Linked DNA regions of Homo sapiens: all the other regions are linked to region 2. The links are contacts of gene promoters, found by promoter capture Hi-C in blood cells and fetal thymus (Javierre and others, 2016). All regions are on one chromosome and are shown on one strand. Each heading gives the region's core, a stretch centred on a gene start or on the middle of the fragment in contact. The rest is flanking DNA. Distances are from core to core; before and after follow the strand shown. Region 1 has its middle 4.1 kb from the start of MTOR. Region 2 holds the start of FBXO2 (F-box protein 2). Region 3 holds the start of ANGPTL7 (angiopoietin like 7).

Region 1 (3,971 bases), core at 550-3,049, 390 kb after region 2:
AAACTTTATAAAATTAATCAGGGGCCAGGTGCGGTGGCTCACACCTGTAATCCCAGCACTTTGGGAGGCCAAGGCAGGCTGATCACTTGAGGTCAGGAGTTCGAGACCAGCCTGGCCAACATTGTGAAACCCCGTCTCTACTAAAAATACAAAAATTAGGCTGGACACAGTGGCTCACACCTGTAATCCTAGCACTTTGCGAGGCTGAGGCAGGCAGATTACCTGAGGTCAGGAGTTCAAGACCAGCCTGGCCAACATGGTGAAACTTTGTCTTTACTAAAAATACAAAAAATTAGCCGGGTACAGTGGGGTGCGCCTATAATCCCAGCTACTCTGCCGAGGTGCACACCTGTAATCCCAGCTACTCTGGAGGCTGAGGCAGGAGAATTGCTTGAACCTGGGAGGCAGAGGTTGCAGTGAGCTGAGATCACGCCACTGCACTCTAGCCTGGGCTACAGAGCGAGACTTGGTCTCAAAAAAAAAAAAAAAGTACAAAAATTAGCTGGCATGGTGGCGCACACCTGTAATCCCAGCCACTCGGGAGGCTGAGGCAGGAGAATCGTTTGAACCCGGGAGGTGGAGGTTGCGGTGAACTGAGATCACACCACTGCACTCCGAGTGAGACTCCATCTCAAAATAAAATAAAATAAATCAGGGAGGAAGGGAGGGAGAGAAATGAAAATAAACAAAGCTTGCAGCACATTCAGCATTCATCATGAGGTCATGTTGAACTCTGAGCCATTTCCTCATAGTTGTTTGCTGCCTACTGTCCCAGAATCATGCGGACCCTGTCATCAGACAACTTAAGCTTGCAAAACATTGTTTTCCACCTGAGGTATTCTTTCAGGTCCTGCATATCAGTGAAACTACTGATGACAGCCATTGTGAAAGACCCCACAGGGAGCTAACTCACCAAAGAATGCAGTTTCTACATCCTGATGATTTCACCCCCTTTACCCCAACCCATAAACGATACCAAATTTCCAGCCTCTCCCCCTCTACAATCCCCTTAAAAACCCCAGCTCAGGCCGGGCACGGTGGCTCACTCCTGTAATCCCAGCACTTTGGGAGGCCGAGGTGGGCAGATCAAGAGGTCAGGAGTTTGAGACCAGCCTGACCAACACGGTGAAACCGTGTCTCTACTAGAAATACAAAAATTAGCCGGGTATGGTGGCACACACCTATAATCCCAGCTACTCAAAAGGCTGAGGCACAAGAATTGCTTGAACCTGGGAGGCAGAGGTGGCAGTGAGCTGAGATCCTGCCACTGCACTCCAGCCTGGGCAACAGAGCGAGACTCTGTCTCAAGAAAAAACAAAACAAACAAACAAACAAACAAACCCAGCTCAGAATTCCTTGGGGAGATGGATTTGAAGGTCTCCTCCTGTTACAGTAGATAGCTAGTCAGGCATGAGCAGAGCAGGAGAGGCCCCCACCCCCTAACCCCAGGAATGTCAAGCAACCATTGGGTGATGGTCAGGCAGTTGTTAAGCTATCTCGCTAAAATAATAATTGATTGCAGCTGGTGCCAGAGAAAGGCAGTCTCCCAAAAGATAGAAACACCTGAAACTGGTGATCAGCAGCTTCCCATAAGATCTCAGGAGCTGGGCGAGTAGGCTCAAGCATGGGCACTAAGAGGCAAAATCGCAGATGATCACTAACAGGCAAAATCGCCGATGATCTTCCTCTAGGAACACTGGACTGGTAAGGGAAACACATCTTGAGTGAGCATGCCCACAACTCCAGTAAACACACTGCACATGCGCCCCTACCCAAGTGCTGACAGGCCACCATGCATGTGGACAGCCCACCCCAAGGGAAGAATCAGGGGAGAAGGGATGCAAGACCCTGGAAGTATGCCAACCCCGAGTCAAGGTCAAACAGCGCACTTGATCTCTCAGGTCAACTGCTTGGTTCTCTTCCAAGTGTCCTTTACTTCCTTTCATTCCTGCTCTAAAGCTCTTTAATAAACTTCGCTCCTGTTCTAAAACTTGCCTCAGTCTCTCACTCTGCCTTATGCCCCTCAGTTGAATTCTTTCTTCTGAGGAGGCAAGAACTGAGCTTGCTGCAGACCATGTAAATTCAGCGCTGGTAACACTCCCATCTCCTCAGTTGGCTGCCCTGCGATCACTAAACTCTTTCTCTGCTGCAGACTCTGCTGTCTCATTGCATTGGTCAACTGTTGCTGTGCAGCAGGCATAGAATCCTGTTGGAACTACAAGAGAAAGATCTACAAGATGCAGTAAAATTTTAAAAATGCAAAATAGTGCGTATAGTATAACAAAAGGGGAAAATAAAAATATATGTATGGGCTGGGCATGGTGGCTCGTGCCTGTAATCCTAGCATTTTGGGAGGCTGAGGCAAGCGGATCAACTGAGGTCAGGAGTTTGAGACCAGCTTGGCCAATGTGGTGAAACCTTGTCTCTACTAAAAATAAAAAAATTAGCCACGCATGATGGCACAGACATGTAATCCCAGCTATTGGGGAAGCTGAGGCAGGAGAATCACTTTAACCTGGGAGGCAGAGGTTGCAGTGAGCCAAGATCATGCCACTGCACTCCAGCCTGGGCGACAGAGTGAGACTCTGTCTCAAAAAAAAAAAAAAAAAAAAAAAGGAATATACATACGTATATATTTGCTTGTTTTTGCAGACAGAAAATCTAGGGATGCATAAGAAACTGAGAAAATACATAGTCAAGGGGCAAGGGTGGAGCAAGACTTTTCATGATAAATGTAACTTGTTTATTTTGAGATTTGAATAGCGACTATATTGCATATTAGAAGCTTTTAATGATAAAAATATAGATGTTGGGCCAGGCACAATGGCTCACGCCTGTAATCCCAGCACTTTGGGAGGCTGAAGCAGGCGGATCACCTGAGGTCAGGAGTTCAAGACCAGCCTGGCCAACATGGCGAAACCCTGTCTCTACTAAAAATACAAAAATTAGCTGGGTGTGGTGGCAGGTGCCTGTAATCCCAGCTACTCAGGAGGCTGAGGCACGAGAATCACTTGAACCCAGGAGGCGGTGGTTGTAGTGAGCCGAGATTGCGCCACTGCACTCCTGCCTGGGTACCAGAACGAGACTCCATCTAAAAAAAAAAAAAAAAAAAAAAATTGAACATCAGTGAAAATGTAAAATTTAGAGGAATACTTATCTCACAGGAGCAATGAAAAGAGGCTAAATCTAAAGTAGCCATTATTACTCGAGAGGCTGAGGCAAGAGAATCGCTTAAACCTGGGAGGCAGAGGTTGCAGTGAGGTGAGATGGCTCCCCTGCACTCCAGCCTGGGTGACAGAGTAAGATTCTGTCTCAAAAAAAAGGAGCAATTATATATATATATATATTTATATATATATATATATAATTTTTTTTTTTTGAGACAGTGTCTCACTCTGTCAACTCAGGATGGAATGCAGTGGTGCAGTGGTGAGATCACAGCTCACTGCAGCCTTGACCTCCTGGGCTCAAGTGATCCTCCCACCTCAACCTCTTAAGTAGCTGGGACCACAGGTGCATGCCACCACACCAACTAATTTTTTGCATTTTTTGTAGAGATGAGGTTTCACCATGTTGCCCAGGTGGGCTCAAACAATCCACCTGCCTCAGCCTCCCAAAGTGTTGGGTCACTGTGCCTGGCCAATATCATAGATATTAACAATAACAACAACAACAACAAAAACCCTGCCAAACAAAGCATTTTGTTAGCCACGGAATATTGACATCTTTATTTGTTTATTTATTTATTTATTTGAGATGGAGTCTCACTATGTTGCCCAGGCTGGTCTCAAATGCCTGGGCTCATGCAATCTTCCTGCTTTGGCCTCCCAAAGTGCTGGGATTACAGGTGTGAGCCACCGCACCCAGCCCAACTATCTTTAATTTGGCAGTTTAGACCTTCTGAAAACTCATTTCTTCTACCTTCACTTGTTTTTATTACATAAGTAATTGATAATGTATAAAGAAAAAAA
Region 2 (3,054 bases), core at 555-3,054:
TCTTTGGGTTACTGTGAGAGAAGTAAAGGTGTTAAACCATCCAAAGTACCCGGCTCATACTAAGTGCTCAATACATGTTCCTGGTGTCATGACTGTGTACTGGAGGCATGCCAGACCCGGCCTGTACCCCACCTTCAGCGCACGGGTTGTGCAGGAGGTTCCTGTGCAGGCTCCGTAAGAAGTAGAAGATCTTCCAGTCGGCCACGGGCTGGTCCCAGTCCTCAGTGATGAAGCCCTCTCGCAGGCACTTGCGTTTCCAGAGGGTCACGAGGTCGATGAGGTCCCGCCAGAGGCTGCAGACCAGGCGGCAGTTCAGCAGCAGCTGGCGGGCGGGCACGTGCGTGAACAGCTCCAGCAGGATGTTCTCGGGCAGCTCGTTGATGTTCCCCACAGCCATGGCTTGTGGCTTCTGGACACCCTCCTGTAGCTGTTGAAAAGCTATGCTGCAGGCCTCATCCCTGCTCTGCCATTTATCTCGGGAGAGCATGGTGCCTCTCCCAGCCTGTTTCCTTCTCTGTAAATGGATGCCTTACCTCCAGGGGTCACTGGGGCGGTCCAAGGAGCTTGGGACACATCAGGTACTTTAATAAAAGGTGAGCTCTGATTTTTTTCTCTGGCCTCTCACAATAGAGGTGGAAGGCACTGCCCAAGGTCAAAAATAAGGGCAGAGGGGGAAGAAGCCCGGATCTTCTTTGATTCCAGGGCCAGCCTTTTTCAGTAGGCCAGTCTTTAATGGGGATATAATGCGCAGCCGGGCAGAGCACCCCAGGCCTCCGGTGCCGTCACCATCCTCTCTCCCATCCTCAGAACATGATGGGAGGAGGAGGCTAATTATCACTGCCTCCCGCGGAGGTCCAAAGGGCTCCAGCCACCTTCTCAAGATCTCAGAGGACATGATCTCCTGCCTAGGTGGGAGTGGCAAGAGGGTGGGCGACAGGGAAGGGCCCTTCCTATCTCCCCACCCCCACTCCCACCCCCAGCCCCGCGGCTGGGCTCCGCCAGCCCCAAGTCCGCCAGCGCGCCTGCAGCCTCCCCTTCCCACGCTGTGCCTTAAAATGCCCCCCAAAGTCTGGGCTCGGACCCCTGTACATCGATGGCGACCCCAGCCCCCGTTCGCAGCCGCGCAGCGCAGCCCGGGCAAGCTCGGCGGCCTGGGCCTGGTCGGTGCCAGGCCTCCCTCGGCAACTGCGGCGCGACCCGGAACCCAGGAGCCTTCCCGGCAGCCCCCGCCCAGCCGCGCCCCCTCCCCAGCGCCCCCCGCGCCCCCTCCTGCCGGTCACCTGCGCTCGGCCGCCGCGGCACGATCCGTTGGGCCGCCCAAGCTGCACCGCCTGGACCTGCGCTTGCCTGGAAAGCGAGGCCCCGCCCCGGCCCGCCAGGCCCCGCCCCCGCGCCCCGCGCCCCGCCCCGCGCAGCGCTGGGCCAGGGACGCACCCCCACCGCGTCGTAGGAAAATTACCTGGTGTGGGGGGTGGGGCGGAAGGCACCTCCTATACTCCGACTCCGCCTGGGCCACCCGCCCCTCACCCTCGGCCTGACCCAGCCTCTCCGTGCCTCCCCTAGCCGCCTCCTCCCAGCAGTCCCCCAGGAGCGAGCTGCGAGATGCCCCAAATCGGACCCCTCCCCAGTTGGAAAAAAAACGACTCCTGACCTTTCCCAGCCTCCTCGGTCCGCTGAGGAACCCGCAGCCCCGGGCCTCGAGCAGACTGCTGGGACTGCGGGGCGGCCGGGCGCGGGGCCAGAGGCGGGGCGGGGCGGGTCGGGTCGGGGGCCTTTAAGAGGCGCGGTCGCCGGGACCGACACAGACGCGGACAGCGCCGGGACTCGCCGCCCCGGGACTCGCGCAGCCCGCAGCGCTCCGGCTCCTCCTCTCGCGACCGCCCTCCGCAGCGATGGACGGAGACGGTGACCCAGGTAGCCGACGCCTGGACCGCTCGCTGCGGCGGGGAGGGGAGATGGGGTCGGCGGGCGAGCGCTGCACAGAGGGGCGTCAGAGAGCGAGGGGACCCGGAGACCTGGCGCGGCAAACTTTCACGCCAGCGAAGCCCTAGAGGCGGTCTCCAAAGAGCACGTCTCTCTGCTATCTTGGTCTGGCGGGAGGCCTTGAGAGGCGACTGGCAAGGAGAGAGAACTCCTGGGTCCCATTTAGCCAGGAAGTAGCACCAGAGGACCCCCACATTCCCGCCTCCCAGCTTCCTGAGGGTCTGTCTGGCGGGGGCCTGGGATGCGTCTGGGAGGGAGGCTGCGAGCCTTTTCTTTCATCAGCTCTTCCAGCTCTGGGCCTTGGGCCGTCTGAATCCCCGTGGGTTCCTTGGGGTCCCAGGCCTGGCCTCACCTATTCCTGCCTTCCTCCTGAGCTCCCTTGTCTGGAGGGGCTGCCCCTCCCCGGGGTGGTGAGATGCCCAGTGGGGACCCGACTAGCGGTGAGGGAGCGTTGGGGGCAGCTTTGGCTGGTGCTCAGGGCCTTCCCAGGCTGCCCAGTCATCCTCTCTGGCACCCAAGACCCCTCACCCCCATCCCTCCAACTCCCTGCGGGGCCTGCAGGGGTTGCCTGCTGAGTCAGGATGGAAACAAGACCTGCCTGCAGACAGCCCTCACTCTTTCCTCATCAGGTCCAGCTGGGGATGGGCATTGCTTGGGTTAGGCGGTGGCAAACAGACTGATGAAAGCTCAGGCCCCCCCTCACCCCCCATTCCCCCGCCTCCAGCCCTGAAAATTCCAGCTCTCGCAGCCCTTGCTCCCAATCCACGGCCTTCTGGCCACACCCTCTGTAGGGCTCCAGAACTGGCTCCTGCTTTTTCCCAGGGATCAGCTATACCCTGGACTCTGGGGCCCACTCCAGGTGAGTGAGTCAGCCTCGCAGGCAGGCAGCTTCCAGGGGCCAGATAACTTTCCGCCGGCAACAATGTGGGGAGTTGTGTGTGTAAGAGAGAGGGTGGGGGGAGCTGTAATTGGATCTGGGGCCTCGAGTGCCAGGCCCCGGGGCCAGAAGAGGGGACTGGGTGAGGTGCACCTTTCGGGGAGCATCAGGTGTCCGATGGGGCCAGGGCCGGA
Region 3 (3,909 bases), core at 512-3,011, 470 kb after region 2:
TGGCACGGTCAGATTCCTCTGTCTGGCCTGGTCTTCCGCATGTCTGGTTTCATCTCACAGACCAAATCAGGACTCACTTGTCTGGAAAATGGCCTGAGAATACCTTTCTAATCCCAAACTGAGGGCCCGGAAGTCCATGCTTAGAAAGTGATTGATACATGTTGGTTCAGGTAACAGAATTTTCAAGCTTGGTTTCATGTTAAAACTTTTTCTTAATTTGAGCTGAGGTTAACCATTGACTTAGTCAGTAGAAGCTGATCATGTCTTTGTTCTTCATGTAGTTTATAATGGGACCAATGGTTTTTATATCAGCAAGAAATGACATGTCTATAGGATATGCTCCTTACAACTAATATTTTCCTGATAATTTCAGAAAACCAAATTTTTATCTCTAAACCGTAAATTCATGTTGGCCCACCTGAGCTGAGCTAACCAGAAATAAAAGTTATTTTGCAAAAGAAAGATTAAATTTATCTTATTTTTGGCCTATTAAGTCTATATTTCAGCATTGCATTTAAAAAATCCTGTATTCGGAGAAATTCATTTAAGACCATGGAAAAAAATAGACGTATCACAATTGAGGAACCTTAAGGAGCCGCATCCTTCCTGAACACAAAGGGACTCTTCACATGGTTATGTGTCTCTACACTTAACTCTGAGCCAATGAGAAGAGTTACGTTTACAGAGAGAGGACACAAAATTCCATTAATGCTCATTCCTGGTAAATCTTAGGAACACCAGAGAACTGTTTCTGGCAAAACTTTGCTTCCAGAGGAACAGCTGTTACAGTTTGGTGCTTCCTTGGAATTTCTTGAGATATAGCCTGTCAGCTCTTGGTGAGGAAGTAGCAGAGCTACACCAATCAGGAAGACTTGAACCCTGCTTCTAAGACTTGCTGGGTGACTTTGGGCAAACCATGTAGTATCTCAGCACTCCAAGATGGTAGGCTGAAACACTGTGTGGATAAAAGAGACCCGTGAAGGTGTTAGGTAAACTTACATAGCATTAGAAGTCAAAGGAAATACTGCATAAGCCTTTACTAAAGGGAAAGTGTACCCACAAAAGAGGCCCCAGTAGTGGTTCTGATGACCAGGATATGTAGAAGCAGTGCTGTAGATGGGGAGGCACTCCACGCTCCCTCAGGGGACTGGTCTCCTTACCTGCGGAGGTCTGAGTGACCGTCTGTGCTGCCTGCAGCTGCATGATGTCAATTTGGTTGTTCATCTCGGAGTACTTGCTCTCAGCATCTGTGAGCCGCGACTCCATGCGCTTGCTGTTGCTCTCCAGCTCCATCACCTGCATGACCACGCTGACCCAGTCCCTCTCCTGCTTCTTGTTCAGTTCACTCAGCAGGCTGCTAAGGTTGGCAACTTGGGCCTTGAGCTCCTTCACCTCCTCACAGCAGTTGGCCGCTTTGAGCTGTGGCTGTGCTGGTGTCTTGTGCTTAGAGAGCTTCTGCAGCCACGCTGGGTGGCTGACAAAGGCCACGATGAAAATGCAGAGCCAGGTCACAGCTGAGAGAGGCTTTTTCAGCATCTTTTGTGGGTTTGGGTGAGGAAGGCTCTTCCTTCAGGGGAGTCTGGAGATGCCCAGCTGAGGTCTGCAAAGCTGCAGCAGGCTGACTGAACCTTACGCTTTCACTCTGAGGGCCTCGCCACTTTGTTGTTTTCTCTCTTTCCTTGCTCTTTGCTAGCCTTTCTCAAAGCTTGAGTCTCTGACAGGGGAGCTGAATGGGTAGCCTATAGCTTTCCTTCCAAGCCCGAATGCTCCACAAGTCAGCATCTTAAATATTGTTTGCTGCCTGTACCTCCACCCCTACCATGGCTGCACCAGGCTTTAGCCCCTCCCAGCTCATCTGGGAGGGTCAGGTGCCTGTTGGGTGAAGTCAGCGGCAACTTAGGCCAGAGGAGGGGAGGAGGGAGATGGGGCGAGTCTTTCTTTCCTTGCCTGTACAGTCTCTGGGCTAAGACAAGAGGACTGTGAATTTGTGTGTTTCCAGTTTCGCCTATTAGATTATGCCCCTGCCAGCCACTGGCTCAACTCTATCAGCAAGCAGGACAGGGTCAGAAGAATTTCCAAATTCCGTTCAAAAGGTTATATAACCATGGGGTGAGCGTAAGGTAGGCGAAAGAGACGCTACTCACCCAGGGAGGCCTGTTAATGTAATCCATGCTGTTTATATGAGGATCTGGTATATTTTGACATCCTGCTGAATATGCTTTTATCTAGGCTGATTATTCCCATCTCTGATCATTATTTAGTATTTTATAAAATCCTTACTCAACCTGGATCTAACACTATCTCACATTTGAAATCTTCCAACTTAGAAAAGTTCTAGAAATAGAAGAATAGAGTAAATCTCTTAGGAAGCCAAAAAAAGACTTTGTAGCCACAGGGTTTGGACAGTTGTCTTTTTACATGCTTTCTCCTTCAACAAAGAGAGGGCCAGTATTAGCATATAACACTTGATATTTTGCAAGGAGGTGTCAGAAGATTACAACAGAGATGAAAACTCAGCAGTGCCAAGCATGTCTGGGATTGGTCACCCATGCTTCTGTCAGTTTCTAGGCAGGACAGAGAACAGGCCCATCCTTAGCCCGTGGTTCAAAACTTGGAAAATATATTAAAATATAGAGAAAAGAATCCCTGTCACCTAATAAATCCATATCTAGAGTCTCATTTCCCTCTTTCTTTGCTGGTATGGTTTGCAATTTGAAATTATTCCTCCTCTATTTGTATATGACTTTGTATCTAAAAAACATGAATATTGTAATTTTTCATGTACTATATATGAAGGACAATGCTCTTTTGAAAAGAAATGTGAAAAACATGGAGTTTCAGCAAACATCCTTAAAATAAGCTTTTCACTAAGAATCTATACAAAGGTTCCTCTGTCCTTAAAACAGTAACTCTGTCTTTGGAACATACGATTGCTGTTTCCATGTTATGGAGCCACTCAGGCAGTTACTTGTACTGTTGTAGTCAGCGTGGGTCCTTCCCACATAAGCCTGATGCCTGACAGCTCTCCTCCCATGCCATAATCCCCCAGAGCTCTTTTCCAGTCAGGGCTTCTAGCTCCTCAGAAAGTAATTTCTGTTCAGGCAGCTGGAGTTACTGAACAATTTTTTTTTTTCTCAGAATCAAAAAGCAGTGGAGGATCAGGTGGATCAGAGTTTGTTTTCTCACATACCCAGCCTCCTTTGCCTGCTAAAGGGTGAGGATGTTACTGATACCCTTATAGCAACTTGGCATTCTAATCAAAAGATTCTGTTGAGAATTGGCACTGTCTGCCAGTCTGCTCTCTTTTTGCAAATGTCTAGCCCAGCTGGGCACCACAGCCTTAGCTCCATAGCATTCATTTTAGTAACGAGACTCTGGCCCCAAATATTGGCATCCTACAAGGTCTGCTAAAAATAGGGATTTTCAAGTGGATCTCCTGGCCATCAAATGACACTGAGCTTAAACCACATGCCACAGAAGTGCTATGTACCATACAGTCATGTATAGCAGGGGTCCCTAATCCCCAGGCTGCAGACCTGTACTTGTCCATGGCCTGTTAGGAATAGGGCCATACAGCAGGAGGTGAGTGGCAGGTGAGTGAGCATTACCGCCTGAGCTCTGCCTCCTGTCAGATCGGTGGCAGCATTAGATCCTCACAGGAGTGTGAACCCTGTTGTGAACTGCACATGTGAGGGATCTAGGTTGCGTGCTCCTTGTGAGAATCTAAGTACTGCCTGAAGATCTGAGGTGGAACAGTTTTACCTCAAAACCATCCCCCATCTCCCCACCCCCACCCTGGTCCATAGAAAAATTGTCTTCCACGAAACCAGTCCCTAGTGCCAAAAAGATTGGGGACCACTGATGTATAGCATCCCACGTGACCCTGCTGCCTTGGAACTCTCATGTAAC

What was found. Contacts are between HindIII fragments. The CHiCAGO score rates a contact against its expected background, and 5 or more counts as called.
Region 1: a contact is called between a fragment that was not itself captured here and the fragment with the promoter of FBXO2 in region 2, in 7 of 17 cell types (activated CD4 T cells, endothelial precursors, total CD4 T cells and 4 more). The highest score is 9.9, in activated CD4 T cells.
Region 3: the fragment with the promoter of ANGPTL7 here is called in contact with the fragment with the promoter of FBXO2 in region 2 in 4 of 17 cell types (M1 macrophages, endothelial precursors, M2 macrophages and 1 more); the score reaches 8.6 in M1 macrophages.

The regions. Positions count from the first base shown.
Region 1 is chr1:11,264,646-11,268,616 of GRCh38, reverse strand. No RefSeq gene overlaps it. Among named protein-coding and RNA genes, the nearest start is that of MTOR, 4.1 kb to the right of the region's middle. The HindIII fragment of the contact is 1,977 bases long and covers 811-2,787 here.
Region 2 is chr1:11,653,179-11,656,232 of GRCh38, reverse strand. FBXO2 (F-box protein 2) reads left to right here and starts at 1,804. Exons shown (of 6, transcript NM_012168.6): 1 at 1,804-1,914. The coding sequence starts at 1,893. FBXO44 (F-box protein 44) reads right to left here and starts at 1,356. Exons shown (of 6, transcript NM_033182.7): 1 at 1,281-1,356; 2 at 133-427. The coding sequence starts at 397. RefSeq lists silencers at 1,125-1,194, 1,245-1,474, 1,715-1,854. The HindIII fragment of the contact is 12,019 bases long and covers 1-3,054 here.
Region 3 is chr1:11,187,207-11,191,115 of GRCh38, reverse strand. ANGPTL7 (angiopoietin like 7) reads right to left here and starts at 1,761. Exons shown (of 5, transcript NM_021146.4): 1 at 1,161-1,761. The coding sequence starts at 1,536. The region is part of intron 28 of MTOR (mechanistic target of rapamycin kinase); the gene reads left to right. RefSeq lists an enhancer at 908-1,408. The HindIII fragment of the contact is 1,155 bases long and covers 1,708-2,862 here.